Regions from separate parts of the Homo sapiens genome. Here region 1 is linked to region 2. Evidence: promoter capture Hi-C in human tissues and cell types (Jung and others, 2019). All regions are on one chromosome and are shown on one strand. The core of a region is centred on a gene start or on the middle of the fragment in contact, and the rest is flanking DNA. Distances in the headings are between cores, read along the strand shown.

The links. Contacts are between HindIII fragments. The study calls those that stand out against the background at their distance.
Region 1: a fragment that was not itself captured here is called in contact with the fragment with the promoter of SEMA4G in region 2 in 2 of the 25 tissues and cell types used here (IMR-90 fibroblasts and spleen).

The regions. Positions count from the first base shown.
Region 1 is chr10:100,882,465-100,888,577 of GRCh38, forward strand. No RefSeq gene overlaps it. Among named protein-coding and RNA genes, the nearest start is that of SLF2, 27 kb to the right of the region's middle. The HindIII fragment of the contact is 5,759 bases long and covers 495-6,113 here.
Region 2 is chr10:100,965,863-100,971,522 of GRCh38, forward strand. SEMA4G (semaphorin 4G) reads left to right here and starts at 3,642. Exons shown (of 15, transcript NM_017893.4): 1 at 3,642-3,729. RefSeq lists silencers at 1-264, 3,599-3,658. The HindIII fragment of the contact is 9,481 bases long and covers 1,805-5,660 here.

The sequences.
Region 1 (6,113 bases), core at 2,124-4,623, 84 kb before region 2:
AGGAGAGGCGAGGCCTCTGTGCAGGATGCTTATTAATTAGTGCAGCATCACAGCATTAAAAGAACATTAGTGTGGAATCGTCTGCAGAGTGATGGGGAAATGACATTGCAGGCCTCCTCCTGATTCTCCAGCTATGGCTCTGCTGGGGAGAGCAGGGAGGGGGTTGATGAGCAGACGGGGGGATGGGAAAGATAAAGGTTGTTGGGGGGATAAGAGGCCAAGAAGAGGGGAAGAGAAAGGAGAGGCCACATTTGCTGTGAATTGCAAGCAGAGAAGGTCTGCTAAGCGCCAGCGTCGCTGAGCCCCACGCGGGGGAAATGGAGCTGCCGTTCTGCTCCGTACATCACAGCCAACGATGAAAAGTTCTAGAGCTGGGATTTCTCAGGCAATTTGGCCAGTGATGCATGGGGCAGTAGATCCTCGCGCACTCTTCCGTGCTTCTGCCAAGCCAGCAATAACAAAAACTTATTTTTTGCCAGGGAAACGGATATGAGTCAGGCAGCCCATCGGGAATTAGGGGGGCTTTACCACGCCGCTGCGATTTGTACCACTCGGCTGTTTCCCCGAGCTCTAAAGACCTGCCAGGAGGTGACAAAGGCGAGACAATTTCGAGTTCACAGTCCTGTGTCCTCGAAGCATAACAGCATGCTATCGAAGGGGACTTTCAGGGGCTGTGGGTTGCAAAGTCAGCGGTCTTTTCCCCCAAGCTCACTGGGCAGTGGGGAGATGGGGTGAGGAGAAGAGCCACAGAGAGCTGAGGCACTGCTGTGAATTTCTAGAAGAGATGGGCCCACAGCTCTGCCCTCACTGGGCATGGCCAGAAGGGGTGAGAAGGGGGGTGTTGGAGTGCCAACCTGGCCCCAGGGATGAGAGCATCAGCATCCCAAGTGAATGCCCTCTGGGGGCTCCTGCCATGGGCTGCCGGGGTTGTTGCCACCCGTCCAAACTCTGGGTCATCCAATCCCTGGAGAGGTGGACGCGGAAACCCCGCTTGGTCCTCTTTTCTCACTCTCACGGTTAGAGCATGAGCCCGGAGGAGGCCTGCACTTTCTTTGAGGCGTGATCAGGAACACAGATAACCTGTTCTTTGGGCTACAGGCCCCAGGGGAAATGTTCAAATGGAGCACTGAGCCCTTCTGACTTTAGCTATCATTCATCTGACACTGCCAGTAACCCGGCAAGTAAACACCCGCTGGCAGGGACCCTGGGCCTCCAGCTTGCTTGAATTGCCACTGAGAACAGCTGCAAGGTCTCATCAGTGTCTACAGTGACACCAGGATCGCCCCCCACCCACCCTACCTCCCTTAGCAGGCGTGGGGCACGCCGATTTGGATCCTGAGAAAAGGCCCAGCACCACAAACTAAAAATAGTCTGCACATTCCAAAAGACGAAGTTCAAGGGTGTAGAAGATGCAACCCCTTCCCTCAGCCTCTGCATGCTTTTTGTGCCCACTCCCTGGCCTCTGTGCTCTCCAAAATTTAAACTTACAGCCCTCGGCCATTTCAGCATGAGTTTTTATCCTGGTCACTCTCCTTTTCTGCCCTCCATTGATAAACAAAATCAAAGGGGACAGACCCTCAAGTCCCCTTAAGGAGACAAGGTTGGGCTCAGGCCCCAAACCCCAAGGCAGTGCCACCCCACCACTTCTGGCATGACAACCACTTCCATTACAACCACTATGTGGAAATGAGCACAGAAGCCCCCAGAGTACCTGGGCCTCCAAGATGGAAAAGTTTGCAAAGCTTGGCAAAAGAAAAGTGGGCCTGCAAGCCGGTCTATAAATTAGAGACTCATTAACAAGAGGCGGGAAGGGCTTTGGGGGCCTGCGCCTTTCGATTTCTTGTTGAGCTGGTTTATTGCTATTGTTTCTATTTCATACGTTTATTGCAAAACCAATAAAAATTATCTATTAAGAGCAGGAAACTCATCTTTTGACTTGTTGGTTGAGATTTCTACAGAATAACCTTTAACTGGCCCAACATGTCTGCAGGAGAGGAGAAGGCTCACGTAGTTACCTTGAGAGGCCAACCAAGAAGACAGTAGGAAGGCCCAGCCCTTGGGGTGGGGAAGGGGGTGGCCACAAAAACAAGAACACTGTATCCAGAGCCTGCCGAGGGCAAAGCCTTCCCACTGCCATCCTAACCAGTGGGAAGCCATACTGTGTTTTACCTATCCAATATTTTACATTTTTTAATTAATTGAAAACATGTAAAATTTGAGACTTTTCATCATACATGCTGGTATCTGGCTTCTCTTTTAAAATGGCAAGATCAGCCGGGCGTACTGGCTCACACCTGTAATCCCAGCACTTTGGGAGCCCAAGGCGGGTGGATCACGAGGTCAAGAGATTGAGACCATCCTGGCTAACATGGTGAAAACCCATCTCTACTAAAAATACAAAAATTAGCTGGGCATGGTGGCATGTGCCTATAGTTCCAGCTACTCAGGAGGCTGAGGCAGGAGAATCGCTTGAACCCGGGAGGCAGAGGTTGCAGTGAGCCAAGATCGTGCCACTGCACTCCAGCCTGTCGACAGAGTGAGACTCTGTCTCAAAAAAAAAAAAAAAAAAAAAAAAAAAAAAAAAAAAAAAAAGGCAAGATCATTCTGGCTTTCATTCGCACCTGGAAACAACTGTTTCTAGGAGAGAGACACTGTCTTACATTTTTTTTTCTTTTGAGACAAGATCTCGCTTGGTCACCTAGGCTGGAGTGTGGTGATGCCATCATGGCTCACTGCAGCCTCAAGATCCCTGGCTCAGGTGATTCTCCCACCTCAGCCTCCCGAGTAGCTAGGGTTATAGGCGCGTGCCATCATGTCTTGCTAACTTTTTTGTAGTTTTTGGTAGAGATGGAGTTTTGCCACATTGCCCAGGTTGGTCTCAAACTCCTGGGCTCAAGCAATCCACCTGCCTCAGGCTCCCAGTGTCGGGATTACAGGCAAGAACCACTGCACCTGGTCTGCAGCCCCTATTTAGAAGAGGACTAGGTTGGAAGGGGGAGAGAGTTAAACATTTATGAACTATTCTTGAAATAAAGTTCTGTAAGAATGCTTCTAAATCAGACTAATAAAATTTCTCTTCCAAGATCCTCAAAGGAAGGCCCAGGTCTAGTACCAGCTGGAAGGGAAGGGAGCTAACATTTCGTTGCATGCTGATGTGCCAGGCTCAGCACTGACTTTTTTTTTTTTTGAGACAGAGTCTCGCTCTATCACCTAGGCTGGAGTGCAGTGGCGCGATCTCGGCTCACTACAAGCTCCACCTCCAGGGTTCACGCTATTCTCCTGCTTCAGCCTCCCAAGTAGCTGGGACTACAGGGGCCCGCCACCACGCCCAGCTATTTTTTGTGTGTGTGTGTATTTTTAGTAGAGACAGGGTTTCACTGCGTTAGCCAGGATGGTCTCGCTTTCCTGACTTCATGATCCACCTGCCTCGGTCTCCCAAAGTGCTGGGATAATAGGCATGAGCCACCGCGCCCAGTCAGCACCGATCTTTTATGGGCATTATCCCTCTTTTACCAAAAGGGAAATTGAAGCTGGGAGATGTCAGTAATGCGCTCAGGGGCAAAGGATAATATAACCCCTAGCCTGAAAACACCAGCCCTAGAAGACACCAGTAACCATCTCGCCAGCTTTAAAGAAGAAATGGCAGGTACACAGTGTAATTCTCCCAGGCCTCCAGGTGCCCTGAGGGAAGATTCACAACCAATTGAGGGAAAATCCACCCAACTGTGACCCAAGTTAGAACTTGCCTCCAGAGTTACCAACACCCCTAAATCTAGTGAAAGGGAACCACAGGGTCTTTAATAATCACTCTGTCAGGTCACGGGATGGTGACTAATGGGCCTAGAGGAGGAGATGGTGAAAAACACTCTAGGAAATAAATTTGGGTGATTAAATTTCAAGGCAGTTCATGGAACAGCAATCTGAGGCCTAAACTAAGCCATCAAGTTACCAAGAGAATCAAGATTTCAATTTAACCGCTGCTGCCCAGGAACCAAGCCTGCGTCTGCAAAGTATTTGTGGGTTAGAAGTAGGTACCCTCCAGAACTTTCTGAGTAACTCTGGCACCTTCCTAACCTCAGCCATTCCTCCCAAAGGGCCAACTAGCAATAAGTCAAAGAATGCGTGTGTTTCTCCGGTTGTTTCATAATTCCAGGTCTTTAAGTAAAAAGAAAAATCATGGCTCACCGAGTAAGGGAGGTACGGGTTGTGGGAGGGCCTTCTATCAGGCGCAGGCCAGAGCCATACACAAATCTTTGAGAGACTCTCAGTTTACTAAACTAACAGGAGAGCCCAAATTCCTCCAATTCCCTGCTATTTCAATTGAATGCTATGTTCTCTGATTGGACCTTATCCCCAAACAGTCATGGTCTAATGTCTGGGGCATAATCCCCCCTCCAACTGAATCACACCCCAGGTGCTGTTAAGCTTTGCAGGTGAACACAACCCAGGCTCTAAGGTAAGAACCCTAGGTCTGATTCCCCATCAGATACTCTCCATGCTCACTGTTTATAGTCCCTGGGGCATCACTACTTTAACTTGTTTATGTCTTTTTGAGTAAAGTCAGTGTGGGGAGAGCTGGAGACGGTGGCAGGCCTCTGTAATGGAAGAACCCAGGCTGGAAGAGCTTAGCAACTGCAGCTGCTCCCATCTCTCTCTGTTTCTCAATCTCTTCCTCTCTCGAGATTTCACCTCTCTCTGCCCTGGCTCCACCAGCTGTTTCCTGCAAATCCAGCTGAGACAGCTGCTGGCCCCACCATGCTAAATTTCCAGGGGCCCTGGAACCCCTTGGCTGTCTCGGCCCAAATGTGGGCAAATCTCAGGCGTCCAGACAAGGCTGAGATTGTTCAAAAAGCACTTCGCTAGGAAACTGGGGGGAACGCCAAAAAAGTAAATTACAAAGGCAGAGAAACAGACAACTTACGGAACACAGATTCCTTCCCCAGCATAATTCAAGTCTAGACCCAGAATAGTTTGTTGCAAGAACAAGAGGCTAAGAAGGGTAGGAAGAAAAGGTACAGGTTTTTGACCCCTTGCTCCTCATTCTTCCTCAATTCATTAGGGCTTGGAGTTTAGCCTGAGATAGAGGTTGTTCTGGGAAAGGGCCATATGTGCAAAGTGGCCCCCAAATGCTGAAGGAGCTGAGAAACAAAGAACGAGGCAAACAAATCCAATTTGTCAGTAAAGGGTGTTTTATTGGGGGGAACTTACAGAGAGAAGCATGGTCTTGCATGGATGCAAGATAGGTAGATTTCTGCACTGTTACTCCCCAGACCCATGGCTTATATACCATAGAGAAAGGGTGCACACACTCCAGCAGGACAATGCAAGGCAACCCTCCGGAAGAGGCAAGAATGCTACATGCGTCATAGCCTATAATTTGTGCGATAACATCAGGGTTGCTTTGTTCTTACACTAGAGACAAACAAGGTAGGAATCAGGAGGCACTCAGGACTGGGGCTACTCATAAGTTAACATGGCGGGTTAGCATCCGCGATGGAGTCGCTCTTGTCTCCACAGCGGTTAACACCATTGCCATGTCTCATTGAGTTCTCGGCTTTCAGAACAATGCCACCCAGGCTCCTGTCTGAATCTGGCTCCCAAATCTAGGCTGTGCTATGTCTGCTCTGCCCCCTAGTTGGGGCTCCTGACCTGGCCCCTGAACGAGGAATGCACTCCTCTGCCGACCTTCTTATGCCGGTTCCGGGGTGCCCCTTCCAGAGAGCTCAGTGACTCTGCTCCACCCACAAACATGCGACCTTCTCCCCAAGGCTGCTTCTACCTTTCCTTAAAGCTAAAATTGGCCAGGCATGGTGATTCACACTTGTAATCCCAGCACTTTGGAAGGCTAAGGTGGGAGAATTGTTTGAGGCCAGGGGTTCAAGACCAACCTGGACAACATAGTGAGAGCCTATGTCTACAAAGAAAATTTTTTAGAAAGCTAGCTGGGCGTGGTGGTACCCACCTACAGTCCTAGTTACTTGGGAGGCTGAGGCAGGAGGATAGCTTGAGCCCAGAAGTTTGAAGTCATAGTGAACACCACTGTACTCTAGCCTGGGTGACAGAGTGAGACCTTGTCTCTTTAAAAAACAACAACAAAAAAAGCTAAGATCTTG
Region 2 (5,660 bases), core at 2,392-4,891:
GATGACAGCCCAGGAAGAAGCAGAGACATTGCCGTAAGTACTTACTAGAGGGCAGGCAGCACAGCTTTATGCAAGTTAAGGGCCTTGACCTTGCCCCAAGGCCTGACCTCAGATCCCAGATTCATCATACTAGCCTTTTGATCTTTGCCAAATTACTTAAACTCACTGTTTCCTCATCTGTTGAATAATGGTGTCTACCTCAGGGTTTGTGAGGACTAAGCGAGCTAATGCATGAAAAGTGCCTAGTACAGTGCCTGGCATATAGCAAGAACTCAGCAAATGCTTGCTGCTCTAACGAGGCGTTTCTCTGATGACAGATTTGATCTTAAGCAGACACCTCAGGGTGTACTGACATCTGAGCAAACCATATCTCCAAAAATTATAGTTGTAAGTGTGCCCTATTTCTTTGGATACCGGGAGCTGGAGCTTCTCTGTCCAGCTATCTCTGCTGATTTTTTTTAATTAAAATTTTCACTTTTTAAAAGCCAGCATGCTAAAGCTGAGAAATTGGTGATGGGTGGTGGTTTTCCAGCATTTGTGGGAATGTCCTGACACTCCCTTTCCCTTACTAACCATTCCCTAGGCTGGAGTCAAGAGAGGGCAAACCAGAAGGCCCAGCTTTGGGTCTGACTCCAAGACGACTGGCTGGGAGGAAAACTAAACAGGCTTCTGAGGCACAGTGGAATAGTGAGACTTCCGCATTGTTGCACTGGTGACAGCCCCTACAGAAGAAGCACCTCAGCTGTATATATAGCCAAAATAAAGACCACACCACCTAAAGGGAAAGTGCTGGGCAAACCAGAGATGGAGATGGCAAAGCAGGAACAGAAATGCTGCCACATTGAACAGTAAGCAGGACAACTTGACTAGGCCAGAGTTCTCTTGCTTCAGGGAACCTGCTCAAGTTTCAGGAATTCATACCCACCCCCTTCACCTAGGATCCCTGCTACAGTAAGTAACTGTTCTGTGCAAAGTGGAGCTAAACTCTGGTGTGTAAGTGGCTGACAATCACTGCTGAAGACGGCCAGCACTACCCTCAGCCACTTTCTTACAGCAAAGTTGGGGAAAATAGACTAGCAAAAACAAAACTCATACTTTTCTGTGTGTGTGAAGTTCTCCAGAAGGTTTCCAAATGGAATCCTCTCACAGCCACCCTGCGAAGCAGCCAGGGTAGTGACCTTATGGATGAGTGACAGCCTGTTCAAAGAATGACCTGCCTGTGTCCCAGGATGCAGATTTATGGCTGGGTTAGGGTTAATTTCTTTAGTTGATTTCCAGTTTTCTTTTCCACTGTCTGTCAGTATTCCCCCGTTCTTATTTTACCAGCTGGATTTGCAGAGAGACATACTGTCAATCAAAAGGGCTTCCTATGGGCAGCTCCATTAATTGCTTTTACATCTGATACTCTCATTAGGTTTAGAGATTTTACTGGGAGGCTAGCAGAAGGAAATGGATTGTGGTCTGCTATCAAAAGTACTGAAGTAACTGCCCAGTGATCATTGAAATCACACATTTTGCTCATTTAACAATGTCTGAGTTTGCCATCAGCACCTCAGAGGAGCAAAGCTTGGTTCATAAAGTGAAGTTGAGTGATACTGAGCCTACCACACTGGCCTACTCGCCACCTCCAGAGCTATCTGAAGTCAGCACTGCAGGTTCTGTGAACATTTGGGAAGCTGTGCCTCTTAGCCCCCTGGGCCCCTACAGTTTAATTGCTCTCCTATCTGCTACTGAAGGACCAGCAGTCTTCCTACCCTGCCTCCACTGTTACCACCAACCCACTTTTTGATAAGGACTGCAGATTTATCTTTCTTAGCCCTGCCTTGACTGGTCTTCCCACCTCAGACGTCCTTACTCAGTCCATCATCTCTTTCAGGATTTTCTTCTGTGGTCTTTTTCAAACTACTAGCTGACTTTTCCCTTTTATTTCCCACTAGGAACCCCTCCCCGCCCCCCCCCCCCCCCCAGCCATTTCATCAAATCAAACTCACTGCCCTCTTTCATGCCCCTTCCTTAGTTCCCCAACACAAGCCTGTGCATAAGCTTGAACATTTCTACCTTTGCCAATGGTATTTCCCCTTCTGGCTTACCCTGCTTCCTCCTTCTCAGACTTTTCCAGTCTTGATTGTCCTCTCCATAAACACAAGAATGAACTTCAAGGCAAGTTACTTAATGTCTTAGAGCCTGTTTCCCCATCCATAAAATGGGGCTATAAATTCCTCAGGATGGGATGAGGGTACAAATAAAAAATGAAGCAGGATATTCTTTGTAAAAGTGTGTGTACATTTTTTATTGTGTTTCTCCCCAGCTACCTTCCCTCTCCCCGCCACACACATCCTATTTGCAGAGTGTTGGGGGAGGTGGAACTGTGATGTGGGCCCTGCTGTCTAGCAGTCTGCAGTCACACACAGCCATCCAAACTACGAGATTGTATATGATTCAGTGCCAAACTGTGAGCTTTGGGGAATCCAGAAAGAAGGATGAAGCCTTTCCCAAGTTTCCTTTAGTTAAATGTGCCACTTGAATCCTGTTCTGACTCCTAGGCACATGCAAGAGTCAATCACATATGTTCCTGTGGCCTTTATCATTTTGGTCCATCTCTTGAGCCCACATGAATACTGTCATGGATGGAGGAGGAAGGACCAGGCTGGGTCAGGGCCTGAATGCAGGTTTTGTTTGGACTATAGGGGCTAAGTTCACTTTAATAGGCTGTGACCTATTAAAGGAGGCAGGAACCAAGTTTGCACAGAAGGACCATCCTAGTTGAGTTAAAGGAGTTGGGGAGTTGATTGTGAGGGGTTTCCTAGATTGCTGCTGGGTAAGGTGATTGAATCTGGGAAGGATAGGGTACTTGATTGCCTAGAAGGGTGCACTCTAAGTTCTGGATAAGAATGGTGCCCAAGATGAGCTGGAGGGGAAGGCAAGTGTTTGAATGACCCAGTCCCTGAGGTGAGCCTAGGTTAGGGTTAAGATTTGGTGAGTGAACAGGTGCAAACGCTTGTGGCTTATTTATCCAGAAAAAGCATTTTCTGTGTGCCTTTCAGGTCAGGCTGTTACTTTATCCCCTTCAGGCCTGACCCCATCTCCCCCACGCATAGCTCAAGCTGAACAGCCCCTGAAGCTGGGAATCAAGCCCCTACCTTGTGTTCAGAGCTTCCCTAACGTCCAGTCGCCACCTAGGGTAGCCTTCCCTCCACACCCTAGGCCGAGAGCAGAAGCGGGTGGCAGGAGCACAGGGAGTGAGGTCCAGGTTAGAGGACAGGCCAGAAGGCCCTCCGAGAGGGTCCCCCAACCCCGCAACGCCAGGACAGGTTTGCACGTCCCCAGCAGTAGGCAAGTCAGGGGGGTCCTAGGGTTACAGCGGAGGAGAGGACGGGCTATAAGCATGTGGAGGGTGCACGGGGTGGCGAGGCCACCACCAGGGGGCGATTTCAGGGCCGCAGCGCCTAGAGGTGGGGGGTCGCCCGATGGCCGAAGGCTGTGTGTGAGCCTCGCCCTCAAACCGCCTCTATTGTGCTAGAGTAGGGGGCGCAAAGAAGAGAGTGGCGACCTTCCCCTCACCCCACCCAGTCGGCCCCGCCTTTCAGGACCCCGCCCCACCCCCGGCTCCGCCTCCACCACCCCCCCCCCGCCCCGCCTCCAGCCGCGGCCCCTTCCTCTCGCAGCTGGTGCTGTGGGGCCGCGGAGCCGCGCGTCGCTGTCTCTATGGCCCCGGATCCGAGCGCAAAGGTGAGCAAGGCGAGGAGTGCGGGCGGCGCCCTGGCGTGAGCCTGGGGCTGCGGGCCGGGGGTCGGGCAAGGCCTCCCCCACGTCCATTCTACCCTCCAAGCTGGGCCAGGCCTTTCTCACCACCAAGTCCCCCGGTCCTGCATGACGGCTCTAGAGGGGCGCGGGCCAGGCCTCGGGCTGCGCGGGGTGCAAACCGGCCACCACGGAGTCGGGGACCAGCGCGGGGAGGGGGCCGCGTGGCGAACAGTGTTCCCCAGGATCTGGGTCACGTCTCCCGGCGTCCGGCGGGATCGAAGGAGAGCTTGTCCTCGAGCTGCAGCAGTAGAGACTGAGGTTAGACCTGACGAAGGGAGAGGACCGCGGACTGTCCAGGATGTTGGAGGGAGGGGGTCCCGGGGGAGGGGCTCTCTCAAGCCAGGAGAGACCGCCATCCTACTAGGCAGAGGGAAATACCGCCTACACTAGGCAGGTGGACATCTGGGATGAAGGTCGAGAGCCTGCTGATCCTCCATTGATCCTGTTTGAAGGGTCTCTCCTCCCCAGTTCCCTCCACCCCAAGATCTAATAGAGGAAAGGTGATCAGAGTTCAGGGGGCTGGCCCTGGGGAAGAACCCGAACTGTGGAACTTGGGGTGGAGTGTGGGGCGTGGACTGGAGACCTTAAACCCGTACTTCGCCACTGAAGGGAGGGGTGATATGCTCCGCCCCGCCCACTTAGCCCCGCCCCCTCCCACAGGTTAAGTGGGGGCTGAGAGCTCCAGCCCGTCTCCCACCTTTAGAACCGCAATATACATAGGGGTGGAGGAGTACTAAATTATGCGTTCCATTCCATCTTTGCTGAAGCTAGGGGCCTCCTCCTGCCTGAGTTACTTTCCCATTCCCTCCCTTGTAGAGCGGCCTTGACTCATGCACCCATCCCATCTGCCCATCCAAGGTCAGAAGCCTCCCCCATCACCACACACACACACACACACAACCCCCTCACCACCCCCACACACAAACACACACTTGAAATTGGGCCTTAGAATTGGGACTTTCAGGAACAGAGGCAGGGTTCTGCTCTGCATCTCACCCCAGTGGACACTGGCAGCCTCCAAGCCTATGGCAAAAACTGGACCCCTGTATGCATGTGTGCTTGTCTCTGCATGGATGTAGTTGTGTGTTCAAGAACTGCGTGTGAGCACACATGTACTTGACCCTTCTGTGAACATGATTGCCTGGCCCACTATATCAATGGGTTTGTGTGCATGTCCCTACACATACATGTGTATGTATAGGACCCTCCTGTTGAATAGGTGCACAGTCCTTGACACAAACCCACATGTGTGGGTTTATCTCTCCTCAATGTCTGAGGCTGTGTGACCTGCTGAATGGATGGGCATGTAAATTCAACGTCACATGTGAATATGTATGATTACCTGTGGCTGTGGCCCTCTGTATGAGCATATGTGTGCACAAAACTCCCTGTGAGTATATGTGTGAATGACCCCTGTGAATCCACGTGTTCACAGTCCTCCTTGTGAACATGTGTGTGTGTGTGTGTGTGCACCCATGTGCATGTATATCACCTTCCTAATAGTCACCCATGTGACTCTTAAACTATAAGTGTGACATGCACCACACTGAGTGGCTCCTCTAACCTGGGGCATGTTCCTCCTAGCCATAGTGCTCCCCACACACATGCCTTTTGCACTGAGCAAATAGGAGGTCCCAAAGGTAAACAGGTGTGCCTCCACAGGGAGGGGTGGGGCATGGCCGGCTTGCCTGAAGCTTCCTGCTGTCCCAGATCCCAAACAGGGAGCCTATGCCCTTTCAGGGTCAGGGAATCCTCTTCTCTCCCTTTCATATTTGACTCTACCCCTCAGGGCTCTGCCCCTGCAGTGCTGACCTTTACCTCTTGAATAATTGCTCCTGTTATCCCTCTGGCCAGTT